2 separate regions of the Homo sapiens genome follow, and region 1 is linked to region 2. Evidence: promoter capture Hi-C in 16 types of primary human blood cells and fetal thymus (Javierre and others, 2016). All regions are on one chromosome and are shown on one strand. The core of a region is centred on a gene start or on the middle of the fragment in contact, and the rest is flanking DNA. Distances in the headings are between cores, read along the strand shown.

The links. The method cuts DNA at HindIII sites, captures the fragments that hold promoters and counts their contacts. A CHiCAGO score of 5 or more calls a contact.
Region 1: a contact is called between the fragment with the promoter of QARS1 here and a fragment that was not itself captured in region 2, in 2 of 17 cell types (erythroblasts and endothelial precursors). The highest score is 5.3, in erythroblasts.

The regions. Positions count from the first base shown.
Region 1 is chr3:49,103,507-49,108,065 of GRCh38, forward strand. It overlaps QARS1 (glutaminyl-tRNA synthetase 1), which reads right to left and starts at 1,251. Exons shown (of 24, transcript NM_005051.3): 1 at 1,111-1,251; 2 at 818-965; 3 at 357-466; 4 at 125-200. The coding sequence starts at 1,227. USP19 (ubiquitin specific peptidase 19) reads right to left here. Exons shown (of 27, transcript NM_001199161.2): 27 at 4,544-4,559. RefSeq lists enhancers at 1-473, 1,023-1,212, 1,423-1,582, 1,776-2,425. The HindIII fragment of the contact is 7,394 bases long and covers 1-4,559 here.
Region 2 is chr3:49,320,534-49,325,095 of GRCh38, forward strand. It overlaps USP4 (ubiquitin specific peptidase 4), which reads right to left. Exons shown (of 22, transcript NM_003363.4): 5 at 4,361-4,506; 6 at 4,169-4,230. Among named protein-coding and RNA genes, the nearest start is that of USP4, 17 kb to the right of the region's middle. The HindIII fragment of the contact is 4,741 bases long and covers 18-4,562 here.

The DNA.
Region 1 (4,559 bases), core at 1-2,500, 220 kb before region 2:
GCCTGAGCCCAGCCAGACCACTTTAAGTCACTCCTGTTCCTTCCCCCACCTCCTTCTCACTCGTGCCCAGAAGAAAAGGCATGACCAGAGAGAACAATATAGCCCCGTTCCAGGCCCTGCTCACCCATCAGCAGCCCCATGTTGAAATGGTAACGTTCCACCAGGAGCTGGGGCCGGTGCCTGTTAATAGCAGCCTCCACCTGCAGAAAGCCAAACCATGTGGTTCAGGAAAGCCACCTTTAGAGATATTCTGGGAACCCACACCCTCACTCTGGGTCTTCCTGAGGAGGGAAACTGAGCCACTCCTTTCCATGGCCAGGACTGGGGAGGCAGACGATGCCTGGGGAAAGACTCACAGCCTCCTCAATCTGCTCTGGGGTCACAATGACACCCACGCCACATTCCCGCTCGAAGTCCACAGTGTCGATGGGGTCCAAGGGGTGACTCCGCACATACTCAAGGGCAGCTGAGAAGAAAGAGCCCGTGAGTTTGTGGCATCTCTGCTCCAAGAAGTGGACAGACAGGGTCCTAATCTCATGAAACTCCAAGGATAGTCTGGCCTCCTGAAAAGTTAAGCCCTGGCACCACCACCCTAGAGAACACAGGGAAGAAAGAAGCACGTGTCGAGAGTGGATCCCCCCTCAGACCCTGACAGTTCCCGTGTCAGTCTCACCATAGGCCACCCCTTCCATGCCTCAGTGCCTGTGCAGAACTAGGTGTCTAGAAAGAAACTGGAGGACTTGGCAAAAAGGGAAGACAGGGGTCTTGGCTGAAGGGAGGCATTGGTGCGAACTGGCAGGACAGGTAGGGGTCTCACCGCTTAGCTGGGGCTCAGTGTGGATCTTCTTACTGGCTATGTAGCTTACAAGGAAGGAGAGACGCCGGGTATCCCTGAGTCGGGAGGCCAAGCCATATAACAGGATCCCGGTAGCTTTGTCAATGGTGGAACCCAGGGTCTGCTGAGCCTGAGGTCAGAGGGGTCAAGAGAGAAGCCCCGCGCTCAGTGAGAGGAAAGGGCGGGACAAACGGGGCAGGTCGGGATCTGGACCCCGCCCCGCGCTGCGTTGCAGCATGGTCTGCAAACCAGGCCGGGGGCAGAGGGGCTCGCACCTGAGTAGCGGCCTCGCGCAGCTGCGCGCTCAGAGCCGAGTTCTTGAGCGTCTCGCGGGCCTTCTGCTCGCTCAGGCCGAGGCTAGTGAAGAGCGACAGGGAGTCTAGAGCCGCCATTGCAGAGACACCGGAAACTAAAAGAAACTTAGGCCCCAGTCTGCAGGTCGGCATTCACTCGCTGACCAATGAGAGTGAAGCCTCCGGGGAGAGCCAATGGGGTCCTTCCTTGGCGGGAGGGGGCGGGGCGCTCCAAGGTCGTCTATCCCCTTTAAACAACACAGGGCGGACAAACCGGCCTTTCCGGGGGCTTTGCTTCCGCCTCCGTGGAACTGGGAACTTGAAGGGGTGTTGGCAGGCGGCAGGGCTTTTGGAGATATTTGCCACGGACCTGGAAGGAAGGTGTTCGTCCCTGAGGCAGGAGGAAGACACAGGCGTGGTTTTGCTCTGACTTTTCTACTTCAGCCCTGGTAACTCCATCTCAATATAGTAATTGTCCTCGGGGGCAAATGCGAGTCCCTGTCACGCTTTTGACGCCACAGCTTTGGAGTTGTCATGGAAACAGTTGAACAAATGAAGCCCAGGAAATCCCTCATCCAGACTCCATCGTAGAGAATGTGTGGAATGACCGATCCAGGGGCCCCATAAGTCCGCCGGTTTTCAGGTGCCCACTTGGACACAGCTGGCCAGGAAAGGGAAGGGACGGGTCTGGGCCAGGAGGGACCTCACATAAGTTCTATGATGATTTGGTTTAAAATCTTGGCCGGGCGCAGTGGCTCAGGCCTTTAATCCCAGCACTTTGGGAGGCCGAGGCGGGCGGATCACTTGAGGCCAGGAGTTCGAGATCAGCCTCGCCAACATGGTGAAACCCTGTCTCTACTAAAAATACAAAAATTAGCCGGGCGTGATGGCGCACGCCTGTAATCCCAGCTACTCAGGAGGCTGAGGCTGGAGAATCGCTTGAACCTGGGAGGCGGAAGTTGCAGTGAGCCGAGATTGTGCCACTGCACTCCAGCCTGGTCAACAGAGTAAGACTGTCTCAAAAAAAAAAAAAGAAAAGAAAAAAAAATCTCATCCCACACTTACCCTCTTGCCAAAGCATTATCAGGAAAACCACAAGCAAATTAGACCTTGAAATCCCTCTGCAGGCCTTTGAGAGGATATTTTATTGAGCTTGTGAGAGGGTGGGACAAATGAGATGGTTATAGCTTCATGATTATAGCTGTTGTGCTTGGGGATCTTTCCACAGTCTCACTGGACTTCCAGGACCTGCTGGCTGAAACAGAACAGAGACTTTGTGTGTGTGTGAGAAAAGGGACTAAGGTAGTAAGGGACTGAGGTAGGGGGTTGCAGAGAATGAGCAGCTGGTGGTGGGATGGTGGAAATCCCCACATTTGAGATTGGAGCTCTTGCAGGAATTGGTGATGCTCATACTTCTGGACCTTCAAGGAATAGGCAGGATCCTGACTAGTCTTTATCTATATTCTGTGTCTTTTGTGCCCACATCCCATTATTAATGACCAACCTCCAAGTCTGGGCCTACATCTGGATACCACCTAATGATCACATGCCAGGTGCAGACCAGGGCCACATGCTGTATCGCTATCCAGGTCCAATGCTGTCCTGGGGCTTCCCACATCTCCATGGCCCCGTGGCCCCAGCCAGATGCCTAGCCCTGCAGTGTACTGCATGAGAAAGGCCAGGTGCAGGAATTAAGCAGGGGATGCAGACCAGTGGTGCTAAGGACAGGTACCAAGAAGCAGAGCCATAGCCACACCAGCCGTGCACCAAATTTGAAGCTGCAAGTACCCAGCCCACCATAAAGGTGCCCATGGTGAGCAAAGCCATGCAGAGTGCCTGCCACTGCCACTATTTCCTCAGTACCTGATGCTGCCAATAGATTCACTGTAGCACCATCACCAAGTCCTACAGGTCTAGTGATGGCTCCCTCAATGAGATCAAGATCTGCACTCCCTTCCCTGGTTACTTCATGGTACACTGTGGACGCCATGGCTACAAGTCATAGAATGAGGCAGTAGCCCCACCAGTGTCACCAAGAATGCCACAAGTGGTAGCATACCAGTCGATATCCAGCTAGTGCCCTAGATGTCTACGACTTGCACAAAGCAGAAATGTTAAATTGTATGGGCCCAGTCTGGAGGTTAGCTTGCCTGCATAAGCCCCTGGCACTGCTTCCAGGAAAAGTCAAGACAAAGATGACCAAGTGGAAAAACCAGGCAGCAGCCAGCAAGGCCCAGTCGTGGAATGGACAGAGGTAGGGTCCAGCAACCTCCTGGGCTCAAACGATCCTCCCATCTCAGCCTCTGAAATATTTGGGACTACAAGTGCATACCATAAGAGCCAGCTAATTTTTATATTTTTGGTAAAGACAGGGTCTCACTATGTTGCCCAGGCTGGTCCTGAACTCCTAGGCTCAAGCTATCCTCCCACCTCGCCCCAAAGTGCTGGGATTACAGGCATAAGCCACCACACTTGGCCAGTTTCAGCAACTTTTTTTTTTTTTTTTTTTTTTGAGACGGAGTCTTGCTCTGTCGCCCAGGCTAGAGTGCAGTGGCGCGATCTCGGCTCCCTGCAACCTCCGCCTCCCAGGTTCAAGCGATTCTCCTGCCTCAGCCTCCCAAGTAGCTGGGATTACAGGTGCCCGCCACTGCACCTAATTTTTGTATTTTTAGTAGAGACGGGGTTTCACCATCTTGGCCAGGCTGGTCTCGAACTCCTGACCTCATGACCCACTCGCCTCGGCCTCTCAAAGTGCGGGGATTACAAGTGTGAGCCACCATGCCTGGCCAAAGAAGGAAGGCTTCAGGAACTCTTAAGGGAAGACTCTTCAGGCTGGCAGGCCCCAGCACCCTCCCTCCAATAGAAGTCAGACAAGATTCACTCTGGTCCTCTCTGCTTGTCCTCTTTTCAGGGCAGCAAGATCTGCCCCACAGCAGTTTTCCTCCTGCTCTGTTACCTGCAGGGATGCAGTTAGTGTTCAAGTTACAGCAAAGAAAAAGCTGAGGACAGGAGAGGAGGAGGAAGATCTCCCAGTACTTCTGTCCCCCAAGTCCTCCCTGACTTGTCAGCCCCAGGCTGCTCTGGTGAATGCACCTTTTACTCCACGCTGTCAGCTCCAGTGCTTCATATACTCCTCTGTCCCTTGGCTATATTGAGATCCTGACGATGCCTACCAAGCTGCCTCTTATGTAGGATCCAGAACCAGTGGGATGAAAGAGCAGCAGGTAGGCTCCAAAAAGCTGATAGCACTGGGGGCTTCATGACCCATAGGACATGAGCTGGGACCCCATCATCTCCCTTCAGACTAGGGCACTTTCAGGGTCTCTCATATATAAACACACATACACACACATACACACCGCAAATGATGGGGAGGGGAGGTGGCCCCAGCATGTGGTGGATCACAGTCACTAAGTCTACTTACTTATTAT
Region 2 (4,562 bases), core at 1,138-3,637:
ACTCCTGGGCTCAAGCAAGCTTCCTCCCTCAGCCTTCTGAGTAGCTAGGACTATAGGCACATACCACTGTATCCCTGGTGTGGTTTGTCTTTTAAAGTCTGATCTGAGAGTTTGTCTTTAGTTTGGTAAATTTAACTCATCTACAGTGATTCTAATGCTGTTATTAGACTTCACTGAATTTAATTCAGCCTCCTTATTTCAGGTTTCTTTTTTTTCCCCCTTTTTCCACATGTTCTAACATGCTTTCTAATTACCATACTTCTTATTTTTTCCCCCCTTCATTTTTGCCTTCCATTAATTTTCCTTTTGCAGGTGTGGCAGTTTGCTAGTCGCCTCCTGCTAGCTATTTTCCCCTCCTTCCTTAGTTTGAGAACCCCAGTTTTTAGCTGGACATGATGCAGTCCTGCTATACAGTACATCCCAGCCTTCCTGAAAGCCAGGTATTGTCATATGATTAGCCAATGAGATACAAAGGAGGTTTGATGTATGATATCTGAGAAATGTCCTAAAAAGGAAGGGGTAGGTCAGCTGGGTTTAATATTGCCATGGAGCTGCTACGTCAGCAATGGATTGACTGCCTACGTCAGAAATTCTTTTCAGAAAGATGTAAGCCTCCATCTTGCTTAATACGCTAATTTGCAGATTTTTCTTACCTGCCAGCAAGCCTTTCCTAACTGACGTAGTATGTTTCAAAGTTATACATTCAATTTTCCGTTTCTGTTAGTTGTTCCATTAACTTATTAGGATCTCTATTTTTATTTTTCCCCATAAATTACATAAACTTACAATTGTTCACCTTTCTCATCCTCAAGAATAGTAGTTCTGGACATTCTCATCTCTCTCTGCTCTATACTAATTCCTCACCTATGTTGGAATTACCCAGAATTTATCTCTGGAATATTATAGATACTAGTTGCTTTCTTAAACCTTGATTATTATTGTACCTTTTTTTTTTTTTTCTCCTGAGACAGAGTCTCACTGTATCGCCCAAGCTGGAGTGCAGTGGCACGATCTAGGCTCACTGCAATCCCCACCACCATTCTCATGCCTCAGCCTCCCCAGTAGCTACGATTACAGGCATGTGCCACTGCACCGGGCTAATTTTCTTCTATTTTTTAAGAGATGGGGTTTCAGCATGTTGGCCAGCCACCGCACCTGGCCTATTATTGATTTTTTTTGGCCGGGCGCCGTGGCTTATGCCTGTAATCCCAGCATTTTGGGAGGCCGAGGCAGGCGGATCACTTGAGGCTAGAAGTTCGAGACCAGCCTGGCCAACATGGTGAAACCCCGTCTCTACTAAAAATACAAAAATTGGCTGTGCATGGGTGGCATGCACCTGTAATCCCAGCTACTCAGGAGGCTGAGGCACAGAATTGCTTGAACCCAGGAGGCAGAGGTTACAGTGAACCGAGATCATGCCACTGGACTCCAGCCTGGGCTACAGATCAAGACTCCGTCTATTAAAAAAACAAAAAAACAAAACCCCTGAGTGTATAAAATCAAGAAATTTGCACCAAGTGATACATCCATGTAACCACTACCCTGACCAAGAAACAGGACACCCCCAGACCCCTAGGTGTCCTTCTCACGATTCAGTCGCAATTCTTCCCAACACTAACCAGTTCTGACCATGAATCCCCAAGGTTAATTTTGCCTGTTATAAAGTTTTAAGTCAACAGAATCATTATGCCCTGCTCTGTGTCTACCTTCTCTCATTCATCATTTTTCATTAGACTCATCACTGTTGTGCAAAGCTGGACAGAATTTCCTTGTGTGCTTACACTTACTGCAGTTTATCCATTTACTTTTGATGGACATTTGGGTTAGCTCCAGTTTGTAACTATGACAAGCAGTGCTAGCACAAACATCCTGAAATATGTATTTAAGAGAACATGGGATATATTTCTATTGGTTATATGCCTAACAACAGGATTGTTGAGTAGCAGAATGTGCATATAATTCTACATTTTTGCCTCTTTTTTTTACTAGTGTTGCCTGACTTGTTTGTATTGACTAGTAGGAATTTCTTTGCAACTCTAGATATACGACCAGCTGTGGTGGCTCATGCCTGTAATCCAGCACTTTGGGAGGCTAAGGCAGGCAGATAACTACAGGCCAGGAGTTCAAGACCAGCCTGGCCAACATGGTAAAACCCTGTCTCTACTAAAAATACAAAAATTAGCTGGGCATGGTGGTGGGAGCTTGTAGTCCCAGCTGCTCGGGAGGCTGAGGCATCAGTCACTTGAACCCGGGAGTGGGGGTGCAGTGAGCTGAGATCGCACCATTGCACTCCAACCTTGGCAAGAGAGTAAGACTCCGTCACAGGGAAAAAAAAAAAAGAAAAAAAAATTCTGGACACAACTTGTCAGACATGGATTACAAATCTCTTCTCTCACTGTATGGCTTATGGCTTGTCTTCACTCACTGGTGAACAGACATTCTTTTTTTTTTGAGATGGAGTTTCGCTCTTGTTCCCCAGGCTAGAGTGCAATGGTGCAATCTCAGTTCCCTGCAACCTCCGCCTCCCGGGTTCAAGCGATTCTCCTGCCTCAGCCTCCCAAGTAGCTGAAATTACAGATATGCACCACCACGCCTGGCTAATTTTGCATTTTTAGTAGAGACAGGGTTTCTCCATGTTGGTCAGGCTGGTCTCAAACTCTCAACCTCAGGTGAGCCGCCCACCTCGGCCTCCCAAAGTGCTGGGATTACAGGCATGAGCCACTGCTCCTGGCCTTTTTAAAAAAAAAAAAAAAAAAAAAAAAAAAGAGATGGGGTCTTGCTGTCGCCCAGGCTGGAGGGCAATGGCAGAATCATAGCTCACTGCAGCCTCAAACTCCTGGACTCAAGCAATGCTCCCACCTCAGCCTGTCAGGTAGCTGGGACTACAGGCACTCACCATTGTGCTTAATCCCATCTGCAAAGTCCCTTTTGCCATGTCACCTGACATAATGACAGATTCTGAAACAGATTCTGGGAATTAGGATATGGATATCTCAGGGTGAAGATGAGCACAGCTATGCCTACCACAGCTATTTTATTTATCTTGTCAACAACTGGCAACCGGGGTTTCTTAAACTGGAGTCCATGACTGGACTTCAGGGGTTCTAACAGTTCTTCTCTTAAGAACTCATAGTTTTCATGGTTCTCAAATGACCTAGGAGCCCACTACTATGTAATGGTCACAGTCCAAGGCCTGACAGAGGGAAAAGGACAGAGCGCAACATTATTCCCATAACTACTGGAACACAGATATAATTTCCAAAACTTATACCATAACGAAAATTAATCACTTCTTTATCTCCCTAAGAACATGCACAGTTCCACATACCACATGAACATCTCTTGAAACAGATGTGTCCTTAGTCCAAGTTTTGTAGCTGAACAATTCACCCAGCAAGCTCCCAGGGCAACAATGAGTAACAGGCCACTGGGCAGAAACAGGTAGAATCAAGCTATCACTTTTTTTTTGTTTTTGTTTTTTTTGGGTCAGAGTCTTGCACTGTCACCTAGGCTGGAGTATAATGGTGCGATCTCAGCTCACTGCAGCCTTCACCTCCTGGATTCAAGCGACTCTTGAGCCTCAGCCTCCCGAGTAGCTGAGATTACAGGTACCTGCCACCATGCCTAGCTAATTTTTGTATTTTTAGTAGAGACAGGGTTTTACCATGTTGACCAGGCTGGGCTCGAACTCCTGGCCTCAGGTGAGCCACCTCCCACGGCCTCTCAAAGTGCTGAGCTTACAGGCATGAGCCACCATGCTCAGGCCTCAACTATCACTTTTAAGTCATATAAAACCCCATGCCTTAGCCTTCCTCTTATCCATCAAGGCCTCTAACTACATGTGGAGAAAATAAAAGCGTGACAAAAACAAAGCAACCTCCTGGTAGAGCAGCAACCTTAGACTTGATCCCTCATATCCCTTCCTCCTTTTCTCATTCTCCACGAGCAGAGGCTCGCCACCTTGCTGAGATATCCTGACAGGCTTCCCTTAGATGCTGCCCTGCTACCAAAAGCCACGGTCTTCATCCAGAAGCATGAACTCTGGATATACAAAATAGGCATTGTTCATCTGAATCAGAACAATTTTTCTTAGTACAAGTACTGCCTTAGGAAAGACTGTCTCTTTTGCACATGTGAGCCTACAACAAGGGAGAAAAAATTCACTTACTTTGACTGCAAGGTCTGCCTGGGCCATGTGCCATCTTCATTTTGAGGCTCAATTACTAGCACCTGAGTGAAAGGGGAAACCAAATGAGGAGAGTTCAAACCACCGCACTTCCAACATGCTTAGAAGCAAAAAGTATCTGGCCACACACCCTGGGCAGAGCTACCTGCTGGGGAATGGCCAGGGCCCTCCTACCTGACCCTGGTATAGCCCAGCATCCTGGACAGTGTTGTCTAGCTTGCTCAACTGCTCGTAGGTGTTGCTCATGTATTTGTTCCAGAGCCGTGTTTCACGCTCCGCAGGGATGTTGAATAGCTTCCGCATCTCTTTCTCGATGGTTGCTAGGAACAGGCAGAAATATCACTTGGGGCTTTGTCCACATGCAAGGCTAAAGACA